Linked DNA regions of Homo sapiens: region 2 is linked to region 1. Evidence: promoter capture Hi-C in human tissues and cell types (Jung and others, 2019). All regions are on one chromosome and are shown on one strand. The core of a region is centred on a gene start or on the middle of the fragment in contact, and the rest is flanking DNA. Distances in the headings are between cores, read along the strand shown.

The links. Contacts are between HindIII fragments. The study calls those that stand out against the background at their distance.
Region 2: a contact is called between a fragment that was not itself captured here and the fragment with the promoter of SERPINE3 in region 1, in 2 of the 25 tissues and cell types used here (lymphoblastoid cells and mesendoderm cells).

Annotation. Positions count from the first base shown.
Region 1 is chr13:51,337,306-51,343,309 of GRCh38, forward strand. It overlaps SERPINE3 (serpin family E member 3), which reads left to right and starts at 2,386. Exons shown (of 10, transcript NM_001386375.1): 1 at 2,386-2,438; 2 at 3,479-3,556; 3 at 3,770-4,042. The coding sequence starts at 3,787. It also overlaps a transcript of INTS6 not described here. The HindIII fragment of the contact is 9,065 bases long and covers 1-3,454 here.
Region 2 is chr13:51,795,913-51,801,916 of GRCh38, forward strand. It overlaps DHRS12 (dehydrogenase/reductase 12), which reads right to left. Exons shown (of 9, transcript NM_001377533.1): 2 at 3,622-3,755. The coding sequence starts at 3,747. Among named protein-coding and RNA genes, the nearest start is that of DHRS12, 5.2 kb to the right of the region's middle. RefSeq lists enhancers at 1,141-1,669, 1,740-1,819. The HindIII fragment of the contact is 5,377 bases long and covers 202-5,578 here.

The DNA of each region.
Region 1 (6,004 bases), core at 1,136-3,635:
TTGGTAGACCTTTGGATTTGAAAGTGATTTGTTTATAAGAATCGGCTAGTGAAAAATGTTAAACCATAATTTTTAAAAGTGCTGGGCCTCATAGCAGTCTACCTACAGGTGATTCACCACAGCATTCCTGGTAAATGTGGGCAAAGTGAACACGCATTACGAGCAAAACAGTCTGGGCTGGCCATCGAAAGGCTTAGAATCCTACAGCCAAGAGGGATTTTAAGAGACCTCATCCCTTGGCTCCTGACAGCACCAAGACTGTGATGAAGGGCATGTGCCTTAGTGTCAAGGTGGCCCTAGGTTCAAACCCCAGCTTGGCCTGGTGGGACCTTAGGCAAGATCTTAAGCTCTTCAGACTTAGTTTCTTCATCTGCAAAATGGGAATGATAATACATTCCTCATAGGATTGCTGTGAGGATTCATTGCAATTGTGAATGGACAGGGTCTAATAGAGTAGCTGGAACACAGTAAGTGCTCAGTAATGCTCTCTATATATGTTGTTAAAATTACAAATAAATATCTCCAAGAATGGAGCCTCACTTAGCAGTATAATGAACATCCATCCCAGCAAGATAGAAATAAACATGATAATCTCTGCTTAAATGGTCAGAGACCACAGTGACTTACCCAGGTTCAAGGCTGAGTACACAGAAGAAAAATCACTTGCAGTTCATCTTTCATTCATTCACACTTTGAAATGTTTAGCCTATATAGAAAATATATCCTGTATGTTAAATTTCCCTAGCATTTTTCCCGAAGGATGCTTCTTAAAAGCAAGTTAGAATGGCATATTCATAGAGTTAGAAAGAAATGTTTGTAGAAGTTACACAAACAACCTTTTTTTAATTTGGGAAATCTTTTTATAAGCTTCTCTCCACTGCTACCACTGGCAAATAGTGAATCAGCTGTTTCCCCTGGAATTCCTGCTACAGGCAGCTCACAATGTGACAAGGCAGTCCTCACAAGTTACTGCCGCTCCATCACCATCAACATCTAAAATACGCAGGCAGTGAGCAAGACTCTAAGTCCCATAGAAGCTGAGCCCAGGTTACTGGTTCACTGCCATATGCCCAGAACCTAGCAGCACAGTGATTTGTGACCAAGCAGGTGATCAAGAGATATTTGTTGGATGGATGGATAGGTGGATGGATGGATGGATGGATGGATGGATGGATGGATGGATGCACGGACAGACGGATGGATGGACAGATGAATGGACAGATGGATTGATGGATGCATGGATGGATGGACAGATGGACAGATGGATGAATGATATGCCCTCTCTGGGTGCTATAGAATAAGTTAAACCTGTTTATTCTCCTTTCATACTATGGCTTAGAGAATACCCTGTCCATTCACAATTGCATTGAATCTAAAGTAAAGATTTGGGGATATTTTATGTGATGCAATTATAGAACTGTAACTATCCTAAGACCTGTAAACAATCCCAGGTTTGGGTGTCAGCAATAAAACTCTTTAAAGTGAATTACCCACTGATTACAGGGGTAGTTGTCAAGTGAAAACAGTCCATTGATTTTCAAATATTAACACTTACAGATGCCTGAGAGATAATTATTAAGAATTGCATTCAGTTCTTCTTTAATCTGTAACCACATATAAGCTACCATCTATTTTGAACTTAATACAAGGCCTAAGTCCTTAATAAAAATGTATGTAATTCTGAATTGATCACAAGGACAGACTTTTGACAGAACCTGCTCATATTTTTCAAAAATATGTGTCTACTCGTTGACAACATGGTCTCTTTCTCAAATTAGTCATTGGACTTACGAACTGTTGTATCTGAGAAGAACCAGATTATTAATAACTCAAGTTACATATATAAATTAGTGCATTCACTTTGATAAATAATAAATGAGGCAAGTCACCCTGCTCCGAACTGATCGTGCCATATCTTGCGTTGTTTTCTCTTTTGCAGAATTTCTTTTCATTTGCTGAAAGTTTTAAGTCATGCCCAATGACTGATTTATTGTTTTCTTCACAGGAGGAGGGGGGAAGCATTAGGTACCTGGTACCCAGCAAAAGCCCAACAAGCAAAGTTATCAGTGGAATTCCTCAATGTGACAAAGGGCTGGATGAGGGGTTCCTTGCTGGTACAACCAGGTCACAAGCCTAAGAAGGCTTGACGGGTGTGGCTGGCTCTCCCCCCACGGCCCTGCTCTGTTCCCGATCTGGGCTTTGCTGCCCTGGGCTGGGCTGCTTCTCCTGGCTCTCTGCAGGACCTCCAGGCTCCAGGAATTTGGACCGAGTGGTAGAGACATCGCCGGCAGAGACGGCAATCGCCAGCTTCCTCTCTGTGCTGTCTTGTGATTCAAAGCAGATTCTGCTCCACTTTTTTAAAAGGGGAGCACATGAATGCTGGAGACCCACAAGAACAGAGTCGAGCAAGGAAACGTGCAACAGTGATACAAAAGTCTGTGAGTACGTGGCTCATTCGAGGTGAGCCATGACAGGGATTTGTTCATGGGGAGCCCAGGGGCATCAAGGTCTGATTGCTGAGAGTGTTCTTGTGGGAGATGGGAGGTTATAAGAGCTGTGAGAACCCTGGGGCTTAAGAGTTTTGCAAATGACCCTGGGCTGGGACACACACACACACACATAGAAAGAAAGAGAGAGAGAGAGAGCCCTATGTACCAAGGTCATCCAAGCACTGCATTTGTACTTGGCTGTAGGGAGGAAGGGTTGGAAAAAAGAGAAGATGTTTTCTATCTTGGACCTTTACCTAAAATAGGCACCATCGTGCTCAGTGGCCTTGCTTGTAAACTTCTACAGGAGGGTGAGTTGGAGAGAGTGAGTGTGAGCGTGAGTAGCAGGGTGAGCTGCTCACTGGTGAGTCCAGGAAGTGACTCTGGACCTCTTCTTACATCAGTTTGGTATGATACCACAGTCAGACAACTTAACAAAAACTGCTGCTGGCTGGATGTGTGGCATGGTCGTTGAAAACATTTTTTTACTTTGCCTTTCTCTTCTTGCATTATTTTCTAGTTAATGATCTCTCTTCCTTGGAAGAGTACATTTCTGGGGTAGGAACTATCTTTGTGAAAATATTCTTTTTTAGAGACTAATTTGCATCACAAGAATTCTGATATTCGAGGTACAATTAGTTCATGTATCAATATTTTAATTCACATAGGTATTCTCAAAATTTTATATACCACTCATAGAAGACCAGGATTTGAGTCACAGCACTGTTTCTTTCCCCATACAAATGAGTCACTGGGCCTCAAAGGTTCAATCATCCTCTTTATAGATGAAATATAATAACAGATACTAGTGAGATTGTTGGGATGATTAACTGCAAATGTACAAAGTCCTTTTTAACATAGTAGATAATTATTTATTATTATTCCTGATAGACACAGCACAGCTATAAGCTGACTATATACCAAGAACAATGAGTAGGATTACCTCTTACATTTCTTTTCCCAACATAATGCTTTGCTTCTGATCTGACCAGGGCTTTGCTAAAGTCACACATCCAGTAAGTGGCCGAAGCAGATCTTCAGACCCACAGTTTGGCTGCCAAAGGACCACAGTGAGTATTTCTAATGCTGAAACAAGAGGGTGCAGCTCTGCAGCCCAGACGGCTGGGCCTCAGGGTAGGTAACCAAGACAGCTCAATGCATCTCTCCCTCAGCCGTCCCTAGCCCCTAAAAACAGAGCTGGGGGTCCCAGTCCTCTGTGGGACATGGCCCTCTTTCATCACCAGCTTCCAGCCTACCCTGCATCTCTTCCCTCTGAATTGCAGGAACCCTCCCAGCCTCCATGCCGCCTTTCCTGATCACCCTCTTCCTCTTTCACTCTTGCTGCCTCCGAGCAAATGGCCACCTCCGTGAAGGAATGACATTGCTGAAGACTGAGTTTGCACTTCACCTCTACCAGAGTGTGGCCGCGTGTAGAAATGAGACGAACTTTGTCATCTCTCCTGCTGGTGTGTCCCTCCCCCTGGAGATCCTGCAGTTTGGAGCAGAAGGGAGCACTGGTCAGCAGCTGGCAGATGCCCTGGGGTACACTGTCCATGGTAAGAGGCCTGCCCACGTGCACACTCACTTACCCTCCTGTTCACACTCACACTCTCTCCAGCTCACCCTCCTGCTCACACTCACACTCACTCTCTCCAGCTTACCCTGCTGCTCATACTCACACTCACTCTCTCCAGCTCACCCTGCTGCTCAGGCTACCTGGGAGATAGGGAGCTCAGCTCCCTATGGTGTGCACATGGGGAAGAGTGATCACTGGACAGGTCTGTGACAGAAGGCATTCAGACTTTGGGATGGTGGTGACCCTTGAATTTTAAGGTTCCCTTCTAACCTAATAGGTTTCATGGCAATGTTTCAGTTTCATTTGACACACCCTAGCATAGTGCCTTCCTAGGTGCCAGGCAGTGCTGGAGGCACTTACAAACATTAATTGAATTAATTGTCACAACAGCTCTGTTGAGGATGATAATTTTATTATCATCCCAATTTCAGAGATGAGCAAATAGGCATGGAGAGTTGAAGCAACTTGCTCAAGTTCACAGAGCCAATAAGTGACAGAGTTGGGACTCAAGCCCAGGCTGCCTGGTTTAAGAGCCCATGCTTTTGACCAACCTGCTTTTATAAATCTGTGACTTCTAGCCAGTGCCAGATCTGCCAGCTTATTTCTATGGATTATGTATTTTAGAGCGGCTTTGCCGGCAGCAGCATGAGTCTTTCGAATGCCAGGTCAGCTTCCCCTCTGCTTACGCTCAGTGCCTCAGCTCAATGCCTGGCCTCAGAACCAATCTACCAACTCCAGCTAAAACAGATACTCACACACATTAACATTTTTCTTCCTAGACTAGGATCTAGGAATTCAGCAAAGACAGAACAAAAAAAAAAAAAAAAAAAAAAGAGGCTATGAGCTCTGCGGCCTCACGTTCATTCAAAGTGGAATGAAGCTGTCCTAGGCAGGGTCATCCCGGCCTACCCATTCTTCACCCTGTGGGTGAGCAGGGCAGTAAAGCCCCACCACCTATACCTGGGTGACACTGAGCACCTTTGTTAATCTGTCTGGGCCTCTGCTCGCTCATATATAAAATGGGGATAATAATAGCCCTCAATTCACAGGACTGTCAAAAGCATTCAGTGTGATCAGGAGTGTTGAGTGTTTAGCACAATGTCTATGAACACAGTCAACCTCCGGCATTTTTTACCCTGTCATTGCATATTCTGGCAGGTCTAAAAATGTTCTTCCTGTGTGCAAATGTGCATGGACAAACTAGGCTAGGGCAGAGAAAAGATTTCACACAAAAATTCACTTCAAGCCAACTTACTCTACTATTTTAATGTTTCTGACTAAAAGAATGTGGGTCCCCTGGCCCAGAGAGGGTGGAAAGATGGAGAGGAGAGTTCTGTGACCATTCCTCAGGTCACACCACACTATGGACAAGGGAAGTGTTTCAATTCTTCTCTGCAGACAGTCAACATTCCTAGGAATGTGATCTCAGAAATACATGTGACCTTCCTCGATAGAGTAAAATCTGATTATAAGTATGTTTTTATCCATTTTTTTCTTACTACACTCAAATGCAAGCACTTAAGTTAGGCTGATTCATGAGATCAAGATTCTGAGTCAGTCTTTTGCAATTGTGGATTCTCAGGAGCAGCTTCGGTAGTGAACATATTGTGGACAAGTGATGTCTGCCTACTATTGTCCTCTGCAGCCTCGTTTGGCTGGGGACCCTGGCCAGGGTGGACTCTGGGTTCCCGTGCCTCCAGAGAACATTAGCCAGGAAACTCAGGGGTCTGCTGCTGCCTCCTGGCTTGGCTTCTGCAACATGAAGGGTGTCAGAGGGGACAGACCCCAAGTGAGTGAGAGTTTCATCCCAGTGAAAACCAGCCGGAGCCAGGTAGTGGAGGAAAAGATACCCAGCATTTTGTCTTACAGGGAGGGTTTGTAGATAACTGCAGGGCTGTGCCTAAAAGGGAGTAGAAGCAGCCTAAGCAAGGGGGCTTCACTT
Region 2 (6,004 bases), core at 1,640-4,139, 460 kb after region 1:
CAGGCCCAGGGCAGGCACACACACTTCAAGGAAACTGTTAATCACTTGTATCCTGCACAAGACTGTCTGGGGCTGTGTCTGTCCCAATCACTGTGTCTCCAGCTGTTTGGCATACGGTTCACCCTTAAATACATGTTAAAAAACTAATAAAGTCAAGTTACCCCTATTTTTTAATGAGGAAATGAATGTTCAGGGAAGCTAAGAACTTTGCCCAAGCTCACAGGCCAGAAAGTGCAAAACCAGGACTCGTATCAGAGCCCAACTCCCTCCTTCATACCACGCTTTTGTGTGTGGGCTGCCTACCAAAGGTAGACCAGATGAAGCTGTGGAGTGGGGCCTCTTCATAAGCAGGGAGGGACAGCTGATCCCTGGCAGAGCCTGGAGGAGACACTGAGTCAGGGAAACCACAGACACTGGCATAAGCAGACAGGTACCCTCATCCTGGACGCTCCACCTCTGAGTGCTGGAGGCCACTTATAAACCCGAGAGAGCAGTGAATGTCCTGTGTGTGCATTCAAATCCCGTCAAGTGTATCTGTATGGAGGTGAGGGGGGCAGTAGGCAAGGGCTTGCTTTCTCCCCAGTGCAGGAACATGCTTGCTCCCCTTTTCAGCTCTCTACCCCTCCTAAACATGGTGGAATTAGATATAAGCCAAACAGATCCATATTATCATCATTTTTCATTTAAATATACTTTTTAAAGCCTGTGGCCCACACCACAGCAGGCTGGAATCCAGGCAAACCTCCTCCTGTCCGTGGCCTGAGATTAGTATTCTTGTTGCATCCTGCAGCAGCACCACCGAAAGTTATCAGCAGGCAGACAGCCAGCTTTCAATCTCGAGAACTGCAGCCCGCAGATCGCAGCGGCACTTGCAGACATTAGAGGAAGATTTAGAGACCCTCACACTTGCCGCCAGCACTAAGCCTCTGTAAGGCACCTGATGGCATGAGACTGGGGATTTCCATGAGAAAGGGAAAGGAACAGACACTTGGTGTGAAAATGTTATTTCAAAGTTGATGCAAAATATTCCATCCTAGAGAGGGGCATTCTTCTCTTTGACCAGGGTCCATGCCTGAGGGTGGGTACTGTCTGTCCCTCCCCAGCTTCCCTCCTACAGGCCCTCCAATTGTGGGGTCTCCTAGAGAAGAGGTAGGAATGGAATGAGGATGTTCTTTAGTGACAGTGAGCGAGCAGCCATGACTGAGGGTCCTTTTGGGGGTCAGGGTTTTCCATTCAGGGCAGCCTTATGGCTACACGATGGATCATGGGAATATGATCTATACAGCTGCACACGCCCTGCGACTGGAAAGGCCTCAAGCTTGGTTTAATGTCCTGCCTTTGTTGTGTAGAAATTCTAAATAACTTTTACACAAGGGTCTTGCATTTTCATTTTGCACCGAGCCCCACTAATTATGTAGCCAATCCTGGTTCCAGCTCTTTCAGAACAGAAAGACCACAAAATGTGAGGCAGCTCTGAAGGCTCGTGTCAGAAAGTAGCTCTCATCAAGACCCAAATGCTGCCGGTGTTTCTCTTTATTAGAGCACATCGGGTCAATGCATGGCTCCGTGGCACCCGGGTGACCCTTGCTGTGTGTTGCTGATGTGGGCTCCCTCTGAGGTGAGGAGACTGGAAGTATCACTGTCCAGTGTAATGGGCCTCTGCCTGCTGGCCTCTGCTGGTTTCACAGGCAGCTCAGGACCATGCGGTCAAGCCTCAGTGCCCCCACTTATCCCCTTGTCAAACCTAGCCATTCAAAAGCAGGGCCCAGCTCCCTGCTGGCCGAGGCTGCTTCCAAAGCAGAAGCACAAACACAGGCCCTCTTCAACCCAGGGAAAGCGGGTAGGAGTCCAGCCTCCTCACAGCTGACCATGGAGGCAAGGAAACCCAGCAGGAGGGGTGAGGAGCTGCTCACCTGGTTACCGCTCTCCCGGATGATCTCACCCCTGGCATCTTCTGCTGGGGCTTGATCTCGACAAACCAGGTGAACTGTGCCACCTGGTGGAATTCAATGAAACCATCTGTGAGTTACAGCGAGAGCTACAGAAACCAGCTCTTCCTAATGAAAAATGAAGACATATGGGCTCACAGTTGACACTCTTCTGTTAAGCCTAGATGGGTGGTTCCCAGAGTTAAGAGCAGCAAGGGCGATGGTGAGGGAGGTGCTGGAACCTTATTGCCTACCTGTGCTGACAGTGCGTCTGGAATAACATCCTGATTTTTTGAGGGCCTGAACACATCAAGGATAAGAAACATTGATCTGGGTCACATATGCCTCCCTAGCATCTAGCATAGTAGCTGACCCAGATGTGTTAAACCTGGCTGCACTTTAGACTCATGTAGGGAGCTTTTAAAGATCTAGGCGATAGGCCCAGGACTGGGTATGTTTTACAAGCTCCCCTGGTGATGTAATGTTCAGCCAAAGTAGACAGCCACTTGCCTAGCATGTAGTAGAGACTCAAGTATTGACTGAATGTTGAGTCCATCAGCAGCCCTCATATTATCCCAGCAAATGCCACACCATCATCAATCAAGGTCAATTTAAAGCAGAATGCCTTCGCCGTGGCAGCTAAGAACGAATCGTTATGGAGTCTGCTTTCTTTACTAAAAATCACCCACTTGATTAAATGGGGTGTTTCATGGGAGGCTACAGGCTAACCACAACACTAGCCCCTCTTCTCTCCTCCTCTCCGCACTTCAGAGTGCTTCCCAGCTGCTAAGATGCAATTAATCCTCTCCCTGACTTGGCAGATAATTAAATAAAGCTTCAAATGATATAATAGTCCCCTGAAAAATGCCTAACTTGGATTTAGAGAGAGGAAAAAAGAAAACATCTTCAGCATCTTAAAAAGTGATAAATTCACAACCTAGTTCCCCACCTTCTGCTGGAACATCCATTTTTCCTGAAGAGGCTCTGGAGAGATGCAGCAAACTTTTCTAGCCACTGCAGAGCCATTTGGTGACCCAGGATCGTTGAGCTCATGCAGGAAATTCTGGCATTTACCATGAGGAAGACTTCTGCTGACTGAAGACTTTACAGTGCACCTGAAGCACCTCTTTATAGTCAAGCTTAGGGGAGGGAAGCGGGAGGCTGCTCTAGCCCTGGAGGCTGGACCCCAGCAAGGAGGAAGTTTAGTTCAATGCACTCCTCTCTCCAGGTATTTTGGGGGCCTTGGTTCATAACTACCATCCACATCCAAATTGCAGTGGACTTTGAGGCTCCCCCTCCCCTTGTCTCTCACCCCAGGAGAGTCTCATTGAGAAGACATGAGTTAGAGACCAGGTGTTCATGTTTTTGTTTTTGTTTTTTTAATTAAATTCCACTGGGGATTCTGATGTCCAGGGTTTGCTTGAGCCCCTCGCTGTTCTTAATCAGAAAACACTGGGACACGTGGGCAGGACCCCAAGCTCGCCTGAGAATTAATTAAGTGTTGAGGAAAGGGCTCCTGTTGCTCTAGCCACCTGGAGCTCAAAACTCAGAAAGCTGGCAGCTGTGCCCAGAACCATGGGATCGCCGTCCAGGACTTCCTGGCCTGCCTGTGACACAGGGTGCCCTCCTCAGTGTGGACCGGCCGCAGTCTGGCCGTGGGGCTCAGTGGACACACGTGTTAGCAGCTGCTTACCTCGCTTGGCGATTTCAAGGGCAGTTGCTTTGCCAATGCCGCTGTTTCCTCCAGTGACCAAAAAGACTCTTCCAGGAATCTGGACCTCCAAGTCATGAGGGACAAAGTCTTTACATGCAGATTCATAGCCACTCCTAGAAAGAGGAGACCCACAGGAAGACCAGCTGTAAGGAGTGGGGAACACAAACCCCTGCAGGAGAAAGCCTAATTCTAGGATGGGCATTATTGCTGTCTCCGCCTCTCCCAACACATCACGAAACTCCTTTCTCCCTTGCCCTCCCTGCTCTCACAAACACCACTATCTCGGGGCCTGCATTTCCTGGACCATGATCTTTCCAAACTTTTGAAAATATTGGAGATTCCAACATTTTGGCATCCAAATTGTCTTCCTCTGACTGCCCCGATCCTGGGGAGTGGCAAAAAGAAAAAAAATCCCTTGACAGATGAATTGCTCTTTTCCCTTTTGTGGGGGGCAGGTTTCAGGAAGCTTAGGAGACCATTTGCATTGTGCTTATTGCATTGCAGGACAGATATCCTTGCCTACTTGGAGAAACGGGGGAGATTTGCAAGTAGGGAATAAAGGAGGAGGATGGTAGAGTTATTTAAGCTCTGCACCCATCAGAGGAAGCCAAGGCTCCTTCAGGGACACAAGGTGTGCACTGCACAGCTCTAGGGAGTGCCATTCGGATCAGAATGATGGGATATTTGTATCTGCATTATGATAATGTTCTGGCAGGTGGCAGAAAAGCATATTGCAGAAGAGGTATTTTTTCTGATTTGCACAAAGGCATCATATTGGATAGATGCAATTGTGAGTTCTTTAACTGTTTCTTTTTCCCATTCCTTTTGCGATACCTCTCTACCTTTACTCTTCTAGTATTTCCTGGCTATGAAATTGGCTAAGGGCAGTGGTGGCAGAATGGTGGGGTTGGCAGGTGGAGGCCCAGAGGGCAGACTCTGCCCACGCACAGGCAGGCTGGGGTCTCAGAGCTTACATCTCTCACCTACGGAGCCGAGAGATTTCTCCTGGGCAATGCAGGATGGGACTCTGATCTCAAGGCTCCACAGATGCTGAGAGCCCTCCCACAGGACCTGTTTACAAAAGGGTAGCCAACAGCTGGCCTCCTGCCCCATGCCCTGGTACAGCACAACTGCCAGTTACATGCTCTGGAACTCGGGGAAGTGGCCAAAGGATGTTTATGAGCTTGGGTTTGGTTTGAAAGTCATTGCCACGGGGCAGGCATTGCCACTTGTTTCAGTCAAGCCAGATGTTCTTAAGAGAACAAGAAAAATGTTCCTGTTTTCACCATCTGTAACTCACCAGAACATGCAGGGCAGCTTAGAGAACACCCTACCCATTGCTTCTGCTGTGAGTGGCAAGCAAGACTTCTTATTCCAAAGCCTTCCCAAAAAGGTTGACTTGAAACTTAAAAATATCAGTAACAAGGGCTTGAACAACCTGGGTTTAAGTCACAGCTCAGCCTCTTACTAGCTGTGCCATCTTGTGTGTTGATTTAACCTTTCTGAGCTCTTATCTCCTCATCTGCAGAAAGGGAATAATAAGAGATACCTCTTGGGCAGCCTAAATGAGATGCCGCATCTAAGGCACTTATGACAGCACTTGGAACATATTAGGAGCTCAATAATTAGCAGCTGACATTATTATTTTTTGAGACAGAGTCCCACCCTGTCGCCCAGGATGGAGTGCAGTGGCGCGATCTCGGCTCACTGCAACCTCCGCCTCCCGGGTTCAAGTGATTCTCCTGTCTCAGCCTCCTGAGTAGCTGGGGTTATAAGCGCCCGTCACCACACCCGGCTAATTTTTGTATTTTTTAGTAGAGATGGGTTTTCACCATGTTGGCCATGCTGGTCTCGAACACCTGACCTCAGGTGATCCACCCACCTTGGCTTCCCAAAATGCTGGGATTACAGGCATAAGCCACCGCACCCAGGTGACATTATTATTATCACTATTAATAATGACAGTACCGTCCATGTTCACACTTGAGCTCATTTGGCCCCCAAGCCTTCAAATCAGTAGGGACTTTGAGAGCATTTTAAACTACAAAGAGGAAACTGGAAGATTTTTTTCCCCCTAAACACAGACGTGAGCCCTGGAATCTCTGTGAAAGGCTTTTCCGGTAGAGGCAAGGGCCTGAGTCAATGAATAGGGGCTTAGCTAGGAGGAGGCATTGTGGGGAATGAGTGAGAACTTCCCAAATACAATAGAGCCAGAAAAAAAGCAGTCCACAGGGAACAGGCCTGAAGAGCCCTTCTCCAGGGGCAGGAAGCTGACAGGCTTTTCTCTGTGATACCCAGTCAGAGGGGACATTAGCCTCTGGGCTCCACACTGATCCGTATTAGAGACGAATGTTTGCTGAGG